Regions from separate parts of the Homo sapiens genome. Here region 1 is linked to region 2. The links are contacts of gene promoters, found by promoter capture Hi-C in blood cells and fetal thymus (Javierre and others, 2016). All regions are on one chromosome and are shown on one strand. Each heading gives the region's core, a stretch centred on a gene start or on the middle of the fragment in contact. The rest is flanking DNA. Distances are from core to core; before and after follow the strand shown.

What was found. The method cuts DNA at HindIII sites, captures the fragments that hold promoters and counts their contacts. A CHiCAGO score of 5 or more calls a contact.
Region 1: a fragment that was not itself captured here is called in contact with the fragment with the promoter of RABGGTA in region 2 in 1 of 17 cell types (total CD4 T cells); the score reaches 7.0 in total CD4 T cells.

What each region holds. Positions count from the first base shown.
Region 1 is chr14:23,608,645-23,613,682 of GRCh38, reverse strand. No RefSeq gene overlaps it. Among named protein-coding and RNA genes, the nearest start is that of DHRS2, 25 kb to the left of the region's middle. The HindIII fragment of the contact is 2,476 bases long and covers 2,233-4,708 here.
Region 2 is chr14:24,270,347-24,275,870 of GRCh38, reverse strand. RABGGTA (Rab geranylgeranyltransferase subunit alpha) reads left to right here and starts at 4,274. Exons shown (of 17, transcript NM_182836.3): 1 at 4,274-4,384; 2 at 4,702-4,758; 3 at 4,924-5,034; 4 at 5,413-5,524. The coding sequence starts at 4,756. It also overlaps a transcript of NOP9 not described here. RefSeq lists enhancers at 1,179-1,278, 1,369-1,468, 1,819-1,948, 3,927-4,006, 4,747-4,956 and 1 more and silencers at 4,097-4,196, 4,267-4,556. The HindIII fragment of the contact is 2,930 bases long and covers 3,610-5,524 here.

The DNA.
Region 1 (5,038 bases), core at 2,221-4,720, 660 kb after region 2:
CTTTGTTTAACAATGGTTAATGATTAGCTTGTGGAGGTGAGCCACTTATCTAATACAAGGTTCAATTCTACCCTATTTGTTTTTGTTTGCATTTTGAGATGAGGTCTCGCTCTGTCACCCAGGCTAGAGCGCAATGGCATGATCATAGCTCAGTGCAACCTCGAATTCCTGGGTTCAAGCAATTCTGCCTCAGCCTCCCAAGTAGCTAGGACTATGGGCGTGCACCACCACAACTGGCTAATTTTTTAAGTTTCTGTAGAGACAGGGTCTTGCTATGTTGCCCAAGCTAATCTCGAATTCCTGGCCTCATGCAATCTCCCACCTCAGCCTCTGAAGGTGCTGGGATTACAGGCATGAGCCACCACACCCGGCCTACCCTATTTGTTTTTATATATCTATGATTCTACTGTAGCTTTACCATGTGCCAGAAACTATTTTAGGCACTTTGTAAATATTAAATCTTTTACTCTTCATAACAACCATTTGAGATAGGTACTAGGATTGTTCTGATTTTACAGATGAGGAAACTGAGACACAGAGAGATAATGTAATTGGCACATGGTCACATAGCTAGTAAACAGCCCAGGCTTCTCTTCCCTTAACCACAGTGCTCTTCTGTCCACAGAAGAGGACATTATTATTATTATTTTCCTACTCTAGATAAGGAAACTGAAGCCTAGAGAGCTGAAGTGATTTGCCCAACTGAATGTAACCAAAGTAGAATTCTTGATTCCCACCCACCTCTCTCTCTACATCTCCCCATCTCCGAAAAGTGTTCTAGCCAAAAATTTGAGTGTCCCTTGAGTTTTCTCTTCACCTTACCTTCTGCTTTTAATCCATCAGCCAATCTTGTTGATTTTGCCTCCAAAATATGCATCAAGTTCTCCGCTTCTCTCCATCTCCGCCGCGCTCTCTCATCTGACCACTTCATTCCACTCATACACTCTCACAAGCTATTCTCTTTCCACCTGCAGACAGCATTAGCATTTTAAACATCAGTCTCCACTGCTTAAAACTCTGCAATGGCTTGCCATTGTACTAAGAATCAAATCCAAATTATTTCCCCAACTTACAGAGCCCCCACGGTGTCTGGCCCCAAGCTCTTCCCAGACCATCCTACTGCACTTTCCCCTCCACCTGCGTGCTTCAGCCTCCAGCCGGCCAGGTCAGGCCTGCCTTCACAGTCCCTGTATCTGCTGGCCCTTGAAAGCTCTTCCCACAAACACTTCATTGCTGTTAAATGTCAACCCTCATAGAGACATTCCCTGTTCACCTGGTATGAGACAGATCCTCAGCAGCGCTCTCTCCCACTTTTCTCTTTTATTTTCTTCATGGCACTTATCACCTGCCTAATATTTTTTGTTTGTTTGTTTAGGTTATTTCCTCACCTACTGGAATGTAAGCTCTGCAAGCTTATACTAATAACTAACACTTACGTAGTCCTTATTTTGTGCCAGGCACTGTTCTAAGTACTTTATATGTGTAAACTCACTTAGTCTCCACCACTATCCTGAAAAGTTGCACTCTGAACATCTCTGTGTTTCAGAAGATAAAACTGAGCAACAGAGAGGCAAGGTAACTTATCTATGGTCACACAGCTTGTAAGTCGTGAAGCTGGGATGCAAGCCCAGGCAGTCTGGCTATGGAGTCTGTGCTCTTTTTTTTTTTTTTTTTTTTTTGAGACGGAGTCTCGCTCTTATCGCCCAAGCTGGAGTGCAGTGGCGTGATCTCGGCTCACTGCAACCTCCACCTGCCGGGTTCAAGCAATTCTCCTGCCTCAGCCTACTGAATAGCTGGGATTACAGGCGTGTGCTACCACGCCCAGCTAATTTTTGTACTTTTAGTAGAGACAGGGTTTCACCACATTGGCCAGGCTGGTCTCGAATTCCTGATCTCAGGTGATCTGCCCACCTTGGCCTCCCAAAGTGCTGGGATTACAGGCATGAGCCACCGTGCCTGGCCGAATCTGTGCTCTTAACCCTCATCCTTTATGACCTTCATGGGAGTGGGGTGCTTATTTGTATTGTTCTCCACCAAGTTTCCAGCACCTGTAATAGTGCCCGACAGAGGGGAAGCACCAATAAATATTTGTAGAATAAGCAAATGAATGTTGTATAACTGGTTTAAAGATAAAGCTTGCCTTTGAACCAGATTGGTCGGGCTCCAAAACCACACTCTCCAGAGTATGGGATTGTAGTATTTCAATTTTCAACTCAGAAATTCACTGAAGCTTGCCCTCTACTCTAAAGATGTCTACAGTCCTGTGGGGAAGGCATATTTAAGTAACTACAAGCCAGGTAGAAAAACTGCGGTGTCACAAGGAAAGGGCACACAAAGTGCCATGAGGGAGTGATAACTTTTAACTAGTAGCTCAAGGAAGGATTTGAGGTGAAAGTGGCATTTGCACTGGGTTTGGAAGACTCTGGACAGGCAGAGATGAGAAGGAGCATGTAACTGAAACTACAAGTTGTCTCCTAATGTCTGTTTCCTCTTCTTCCACAGTAATCATATTCCAAAATGTTAGCTGTGCAATTGACCACTGAGAATAAAGGCTATATTTCCCAGCTGCCCTTGCAGCCAGGCACGGCTACCTGACCATGTTCTGCATAAAAGGTTATAGAGAAGTCAGGGATGAAACTTCCATGAGGTGTTCTCAAGTGGAAGGAGCATGCCCACCTCCTTTCTTTGTCTCCCTCCTGCTGTCTAGAACATGACTCTGATGACTGGAGACAAAGCAGCTATCTTTGGCCTCAGAAGGCACATGTTGAGGATGTGGACTACAATGTTGAGGCAGTCTGATCACGAAGGCACGATATGAGGCCCGCTACAGTCTTGTTTAAGCCACTGTTACAAGTGTCTTAGGTTGGGTTACCACAGCAGATCCTAAGACAAGGCTTTATGTGCAAGTAGTTTATTAAACAGATGCTCCCAGCAGGGAGCAATGGCTCCTATCTATAATCCCAGAACTTTGGGAGACCAAGACAGGAGGATTGCTTGAGGCCAGAAGTTTCAGACCAGCCTGAGTAACATAGTGAGACCCCTGTCTCTACAAAAAATTTAAAAATTAGCTGATCAGGTCATGTGTGCCTGTAGTCCCAGCTACTCAGGAAGCTGAGGCAGGAAGTTCCTTTGAGCATAGTAGTTTGAGGTTACAGTGAGCTATGATTATGCCACTGCACTCCAGCCTTAGTGGCAAAGTGAGACCTTGTCTCAAAAATAAAAATTAAAAAAATGCTCCCAGGAGAAACCAGTAAGGGAGTGTGGAAAGTAAGACAGGGAAGGGAGGAGGACAAGCAAGGGAATGTTTCAGCAAAGCCCCAGCCTTAGCCTGGTCCCAAAGGTCAGTTCTGGAGTGTAAACTACACCTCACAGTTTGCCCAGATTTCAGACAATGGAACTAGGCTGTTACCTAGTTCAGCTAAAGGCTGCCCCTGCTTCTCTCGATGTGCAGAAGCTGTGGGAGATGATTAAACGGGTCACAGGGGCTCTGGTGCAACCTCAATGGGCCCCTTACACTGGGTTTTCTCTCACTCATAACTTAACCTAATCCTAAAAAGTACCAAAAACATTTCTGGCAGAGGGGAGAGTATAAATAAAGTGCACAGAACCTGAAGGAACAAGAGGCTATATGAAAGTATTGGAAAGGAAGAGGACAGGAAAGAAAGAAATAGGAAACAAATTTGGAAAACCAAACTGTAGTCACTGGGACTTGATATGGTTTGGCTGCGTCCCCACCCAAAACTCATCTTGAATTGTACCTCCCCACATCTCGCTTCTGCACTGCCCTAGCAGAGGCTCTCCATGAGGGCCCTGCCCCTGCAGCAAACTTCTGCCTGGACATCCAGGCATTTCCATACACAGCAGTCGGGGCCTGGAAATGTAGGGTTGAAGCCCCCACACAAAGTCCCCACTGGGGCACTGCCTAGTGGAGCACCATCCTCCAGACCCTAGAATGGTAGATCCACCAACAGCTTGCACCATGCACCTGGAAAAGCCGCAGACACTCAACACCAGCCCATAAAAGCAGCCGGGAGGGACTTTGTACCTTGCAAAACCGCAGGAGTAGAATGACATGGTTTGGCTATGTCCCCATACTGTTCTCATGATAGTGAATAAGTCTCACGAGATCTGATGTTTTTATAAGGGGCTTCCCCTTTTGCATGGCTCTCTATCTTGCCTGCCACCATGTAAGAAGTCCCTTTGCTCTTCCTTGGTCTTCTGCCATGACTGTGAGGCCTCCCCAGCCATATGGAACTGTGAGTCCATTAAACCTCTTTTTCTTTATAAATCACCCAGTCTTGGGTATGTTTTATCAGCAGCGTGAAAATGAACTAATACAGAACTGTATAAAATTTTGAATTTCTGGCCAATGCATAAACAAAGGGAAACCAAAAGGACTTTGAATCTGATGATTCAGAAGATTAATCTGGCAACTATGTGTGAGAGGAATTGGAATGAAACTTGTGTAGGGTAATACCCATTATGAGGTCATATCTATAATCCAGGCAAGAGGTAATGGTGGCACAACCCCAGGTGATGGTGCTGGGAAGGGAAAGTAGAGAATAGTTGCGAAGTCTTACAGAGAAAGATCTGGTCTTTCTAAATGCTTTGACACGAGAGAAAAGAGACAGAGAGGATCCAAACATGAAGCCAGGGACAATGGTGGCATTGCCAACAAAAATAGGTAACAGAGGAGAAGAAACAAGCTTGATAGAAAATATGAATTCTACCTATTGACATGGTGACTTTGAGATGAAGGGAAGCCTTCTAAATGGAGTTGTCAAGAAGGCAGTTAGAAATGCAAGACTGATAACAGAATTCAAGCATGGAGCCATGGATGTGTGCATTGTCTACAGAGATGTGATAGAAGCCATGACTGTGGATAGGATTACTAAGGGAGGGAGGGCAGAGACAGAAGAGGAAAAGGCCAGTATAAGATACTTGTAAGTTGTGCTGTTTGCCTGTTGCCTCTTGGGCCCATGCCACCCTCCCCTGTGGTGTGAGGGCCAAGGGACTGCCAACAGCCTTTCCCAGACTC
Region 2 (5,524 bases), core at 3,025-5,524:
CCACTACTGGATCCCTGGCACCCAACATGCTGTGAGGCCCAGCACTGATGCTGAACATCAAGAGACTGAATAAATGCACACACTACCACACACTGCACATGGCCCGGAGACAGCTCCATTACCTGTCTCGCACTTGCTCCCCCTGCCGTCAGACCATGGCTTCTAGCCAAGCTTTGACCCAGGGCCCTGGCCCAGGGCCCTGACCCAGGGCTCGTGGCCCCCTTTCCTCCCTCCAGACTCTCTGGTCTGTGACGGGCTCAGGGTCCTGGAGCCATTGTAAGTGACTATGTGTGTGTGCTTCTGTGTATGTATGTTGGGAGCAGGAGTAGAGAAAGAATTGGCAGGGGTGGAAAGACGCCAGGGTTCCAGGTCTCAAGAAACTCAGGTTCAGGCCTCTGGCAATGGTCACTCTCACCTATACAGCCGACTCAATTCTGAATCTCGAAGATGTGTGACTTTGGACAAGAAACTAACCTCTGCAAACCCACTGTATTCCCTGTTGCTTCATTGTAAAATATGGATAATACCTATTTCATATAGGTAGTGAGTGCAGTAAATAAGATGTCTGGGGCTCTGTTGATACTCAATTACTGTTTGTTTCTTTCTATACATAGAGGGCAGTAAAAATCTCTTCTTCAAACATCATTTAGATTGTGGCTTTCAGGGCACGGTGGCTCACGCCTATAATCCCAGCACTTTGGGAGGCCGAGGCAGGCAGCTCACCTGAGGTCGGGAGTTCAAGACCAGCCTGACCAACAAGGAGAAACCCTGTCTCTACAAAAAATACAAAATTAGCTGGGCATGGTGGTGCATGCCTGTAATCCCAGCTACTCGGGAGACTGAGGCAGGAGAATCGCTTGAACCCGGGAGGCACAAGTTGCAGTGAGCCAAGATGGTGCCATTGCATCATTCCAGCCTGGGCAACAAAAGCAAAATTTGTCTCAAAAAAAAAAAAAAAAAAAAAGCCGGACATGGTGGCTCACGCCTGTAATCCTAGCACTTTGGGAGGCCGAGGCAGGCAGATCACGAGGTCAGGAGATCGAGACCATCCTGGCTAACAAGGTGAAACCCCGTCTCTACTAAAAATACAAAAAATTAGCTGGGCAGGGTGGCAGGCGCCTGTAGTCCCAGCTACTCAGGAGGCTGAGGCAGGAGAATGGCATGAACCTGGGAGGCAGAGCTGGCAGTGAGCAGACACCGCACCACTACTCCAGCGTGGGTGACAGAACGAGACTCCGTCTCAAAAAAAAAAAAAAAAGATTGTGGCTCTCAGACACCTGCATGGTTCCCACTTATCCCACATAGGAGGCCAAATATAACTCCTGACAACTCCTTTTGCCTTCAAGCAAGAGGCTTATTATCATCAGTTCCACTGCTCTTATCTCCAAAGGCACCTGGCTCAGCCTCTCTGTGCCAGCCAGCTAAGTTAGTTTGGCTTTCTCTCCCCCACCTTCACGTCATATTACATACCTGAAATACCCTTCCTGCCCGCTCTTTCCAAAACTCAAGCCCTGCCTTCTCTGATGCAGATTTTTTCATGAGACTCACTTCCTCTCTTAAGCCTGCTTGACTCAACCTTCCCAGTTTCAAGATTGCTAATCACAATGTGATTAGTGACTATGATGCAAGGCTGTACCTGGCAAATCTGCACTTGAGGGCATCTGTGTTCCCAAGTATCTGGTTGCGCCTATGAGTGTGCACAGAGCAGGAAGCTAGAGAAGGAGGTGACCACCAACAAAAGAAGGCTGGTGGTGAGGTGGGAGGGCTGGACCAGACTAGACACAGGTCCCATTTGGCCACTTATTACATGGGTGGCCCTCAACAAGTTACTTAATCTTTCTGAGCCTCAGCTTCCTATTACTATACTGAGCCCTTACTTAGTACAGACACTATTCTAAGCACTTTACATAGATTCTTTTATTTCAGCTTAACTTCAACAGATTAACTTCAACTGCAGCAGCTAGATAATATTTTTCCTATGTTACTGTTGAAGAAATTCAGACATAGAGGAAACGCAATACAGAAGTTAAGTAACTTGCCCCAGGTCACACTGGGACAAGCAAGTGGCAAAGCTAGGATTTGTAGCCAGGCAGTCTGGCTCCAGGATCCATGTTCTTAATCACTCTGCTTACTGCCTCCTACCTGTAATTCTGTGTGTGTGCACATCCCTCCTATGTATGCAAAACTCCCATCACAGTGGCTGGCACAAAGAGAACCAATAAATGGCTTAACTCTTTCCTCACTGGGACTACAAATACACAGGGATAGGAAAAATGTCTCTTTTCGAGAATTTGTTATAGGATCTAGGAAAGGACAAGTATATAATGGACACTTTACATACATTTCCAGGGGCTGAGAGAGGTGTGAAGGATATATAAAGATTTAAAGCACTGGCGGGGCATGGTGGCTCACACCTGTAATCCCAGCACTCTGGGAGGCCAAGGTGGGCAGATCACCTGAAGTCAGGAGTTTGAGACCAGCCTGGCCAACATGGTGAAACCCCGTCTCTTCTAAAACTACAAAAATCAGTCGGGTGTGGTGGTGCATGCCTGTAGTCCCAGCTACTCCAGAGGCTGAGGCAGGAGAATCGCTTGAACCCAGGAGGCAGAGGTTGCAGTAAGCAGAGATCGTGCCACTGCACTCCTGCCTGGGCAACAGAGTGAGACCCTGTCTCAAAAAAAAAAAAAAAAAAAATTTAAAGCACTACCTTCTTACCCAGGTGTGAGTTATAAACACACACATGCCACATGGACACACTATTCGCAAAGACATCACACACGTGTACGTGTGGTACACACACACTCACTAGCCACCCTGAACCTCATAAAGGCTCCACCAGAAAACCTTCTTTGCAGTAGGCACAGGGAAAAAAATCACAGTCTTTAAAAGTACATATGAAGGTCTATCAAATCAGACTGGGGCATTTTAGAGAACTTCCTCGAGGTGCCACTTGAGTTACATTTTTTTTTCTTTGTACTGTGGAGTTCAAAAAGTTAAATCTTAAAGATAAACAGGAATTACTGTGGCAAAGGAGGAGTGTGGAGAAAGGAGAGTCAAGAGGGAACAGGCTAACATATTTAGGAAACTGCAAGTATTTCTGTAGGCTGTCATGAAGAGTTTTTGGCAGGGTCAGGCAGGATATACAGCCAGAGAGTAGGCAGAGCCCAAATGCCAATAGGTCTGATGTGCTGAGCTGAGAGATTACAATTCTATCCTGAAAAGGAGCCACTCAGCACTTTTAGGCACAGATATGACGTCAAATCTGCATTTTAGAAAAATGGATTCAGTAGCACAGAGGATGGACTGATAACAAGGGATGAGGTGGAGAACACTGAAAAGACTTTCAACAATCTGGAGAAGAAATTCGGAGTTTGAACTCCTAGTGGCAGTGGGAAGAGAAAGAGTATTTAAGCGAGTTTAAGAAGTGAGGAGGAAATAGTGCCATTCACTACAATAGAAAACATAAAGGCCAATGTTTAGACAGGATGGATGAAAGATAATTTATACCTTTTGGCTTTTGGAGTTTGAGGTGTCTCTGGGACACCAGGTGATATCCAACAGGTGTTTGAATATGTATGTGCATGTATATTATTTATTGTTATTTAAGCTTGCAAGACATCTGGGCTGGAGATATAAATTTGGGTGTCATCAATTTACAGGTAGTAATTAAAACAATGAGTGTGGATGAACTCACCCAGAGAAAGTGTAATGCCAGATTTGTGGGCCAAAACAGCTCTGAGGAGCTCCAACTCGAAGCAGTTGAAGGCTTACATTTAAACATTCTCCCAGGAACAGTGGGTGAAGTGAAAAAGGGGTGAGGAAAGGGCCCTGGAGATCACCAACATTTAGGGGTGGAGGTGAACAGATGAGAAGAGAGAGGCAGAGGTGCAGGAGGAGAAGCCAGAATGGGGGTGTCAAGTATAAAGAAATGGGTAGCGTCAAATGCTTCAGAGGTTAGAGAAAATGACAGGAAACTCCCCCTGTTAGATTTGACATCTAGAAGGCTGTCGGTGTGGCCAGGGTGAGGTCAGTGGAGTAGTGAAGGTGCGGGTTTCCGGCTGTTGGAGAAACCTCTTCCACTAACTACATTGCACTCTGAGTTACCAACTGGCATGGTCCTCCCCCCATTTCACACGCACGCTACAGTCGCCCGTGCGCACTCGTACACACCAGGTGGCTAACAGGTACGAGGCGTTTCCGGACAGCGAGCGCAGAGCCCCCGCGCACGCGCCTCCGAGCCGGCCTCTTCCGCCGCAAGTCCCTCCCCAAGCCTGCAGAGTGCGCTGCGTTTCGATGAGCCGGGACGTGGCGCCGCTCTAGCCAGCGCCTGGGCTCTGTGGCGGGCGCCGCAGCTCCGCGTCCCCCGCGCCTCCTCCCAGCGCAGGTGGGTCCGCCCGCGGGGGGCGGGGGTGCCCGGGAGCCGTGGGACGGGCGGGTAGCGGCAACCTTTGGGGAGCAGAGTGGTCCCCAACGCCCAGGTGCCCCGGCTCGCGCTCTGGCCCGGGCGAATCGGGCTATAGGAAGGGCCACACGGATGGAAGTCCTAGTCCGGGTGCTCACCTCTTGTGGAACGTGCAAAGCCTGTCCCAGGACCTCTTTACACTCTGGGGGTCTCTGCCCAGGCACGCTTGCTGCTTCCGGACACAGCTGTGGGCGGAGCTAGTAGGGGCGGGGCTACGTGATTGACACTTCTCTCCTCAGACTTCAAGGGCTACCACTGGACCCTTCCCCTGTCTTGAACCCTGAGCCGGCACCATGGTGAGAACCCTGAGCCCAGCCCTTCACCTCCGCAGGCCCGCGCCCTCACCCCCAGTGGCAGTGCCATGGTTGCCCCGTATGAACCTAGGGCTCCACAGTGTGGGGTTTTTGCAGGTCAGCTTCTGCAAGGCAACCTGCACTCTTCCAACCCGTTCATCCTTGTAGCACGGACGCCTGAAGGTGAAGACGTCAGAAGAGCAGGCGGAGGCCAAAAGGCTAGAGCGAGAGCAGAAGCTGAAGCTATACCAGTCAGCCACCCAGGCCGTATTCCAGAAGGTGGGGCCCTCAGAGGTAGCCCCGACCCCAAGTAGCTCCCTTAGTATAGTGCAGAGGCCAAGAGCTGGTCCCTAGAGTCAGACTGCCTAGATCCAATTCTGGGTTATCTCACTTATAACTGTATGACTTTGGGCAAGTTGCTGAATCTCTTTGGGCCTCAGTTTGCTCATCTGTAAAATGGGGCTAATAATTGCACCTACTGCATAAGGCTGTTGTGAAGATTAAATGAGAGAATACCTGTAAGGCCATAAAGCATGGTTCATAGTACCTGTTGTATAATGTGGGATTCACAGAATATTGGATGGTTTTAAGTTTACGTTATTTAGTCCTGTAGTGGGAAAATTATATGATCTCTAACCCTGCCACCTATCTTCTTAGCGCCAGGCTGGTGAGCTGGATGAGTCCGTGCTGGAACTGACAAGCCAGATTCTGGGAGCCAACCCTGATTTTGCCACCCTCTGGAACTGCCGACGAGAGGTGCTCCAGCAGC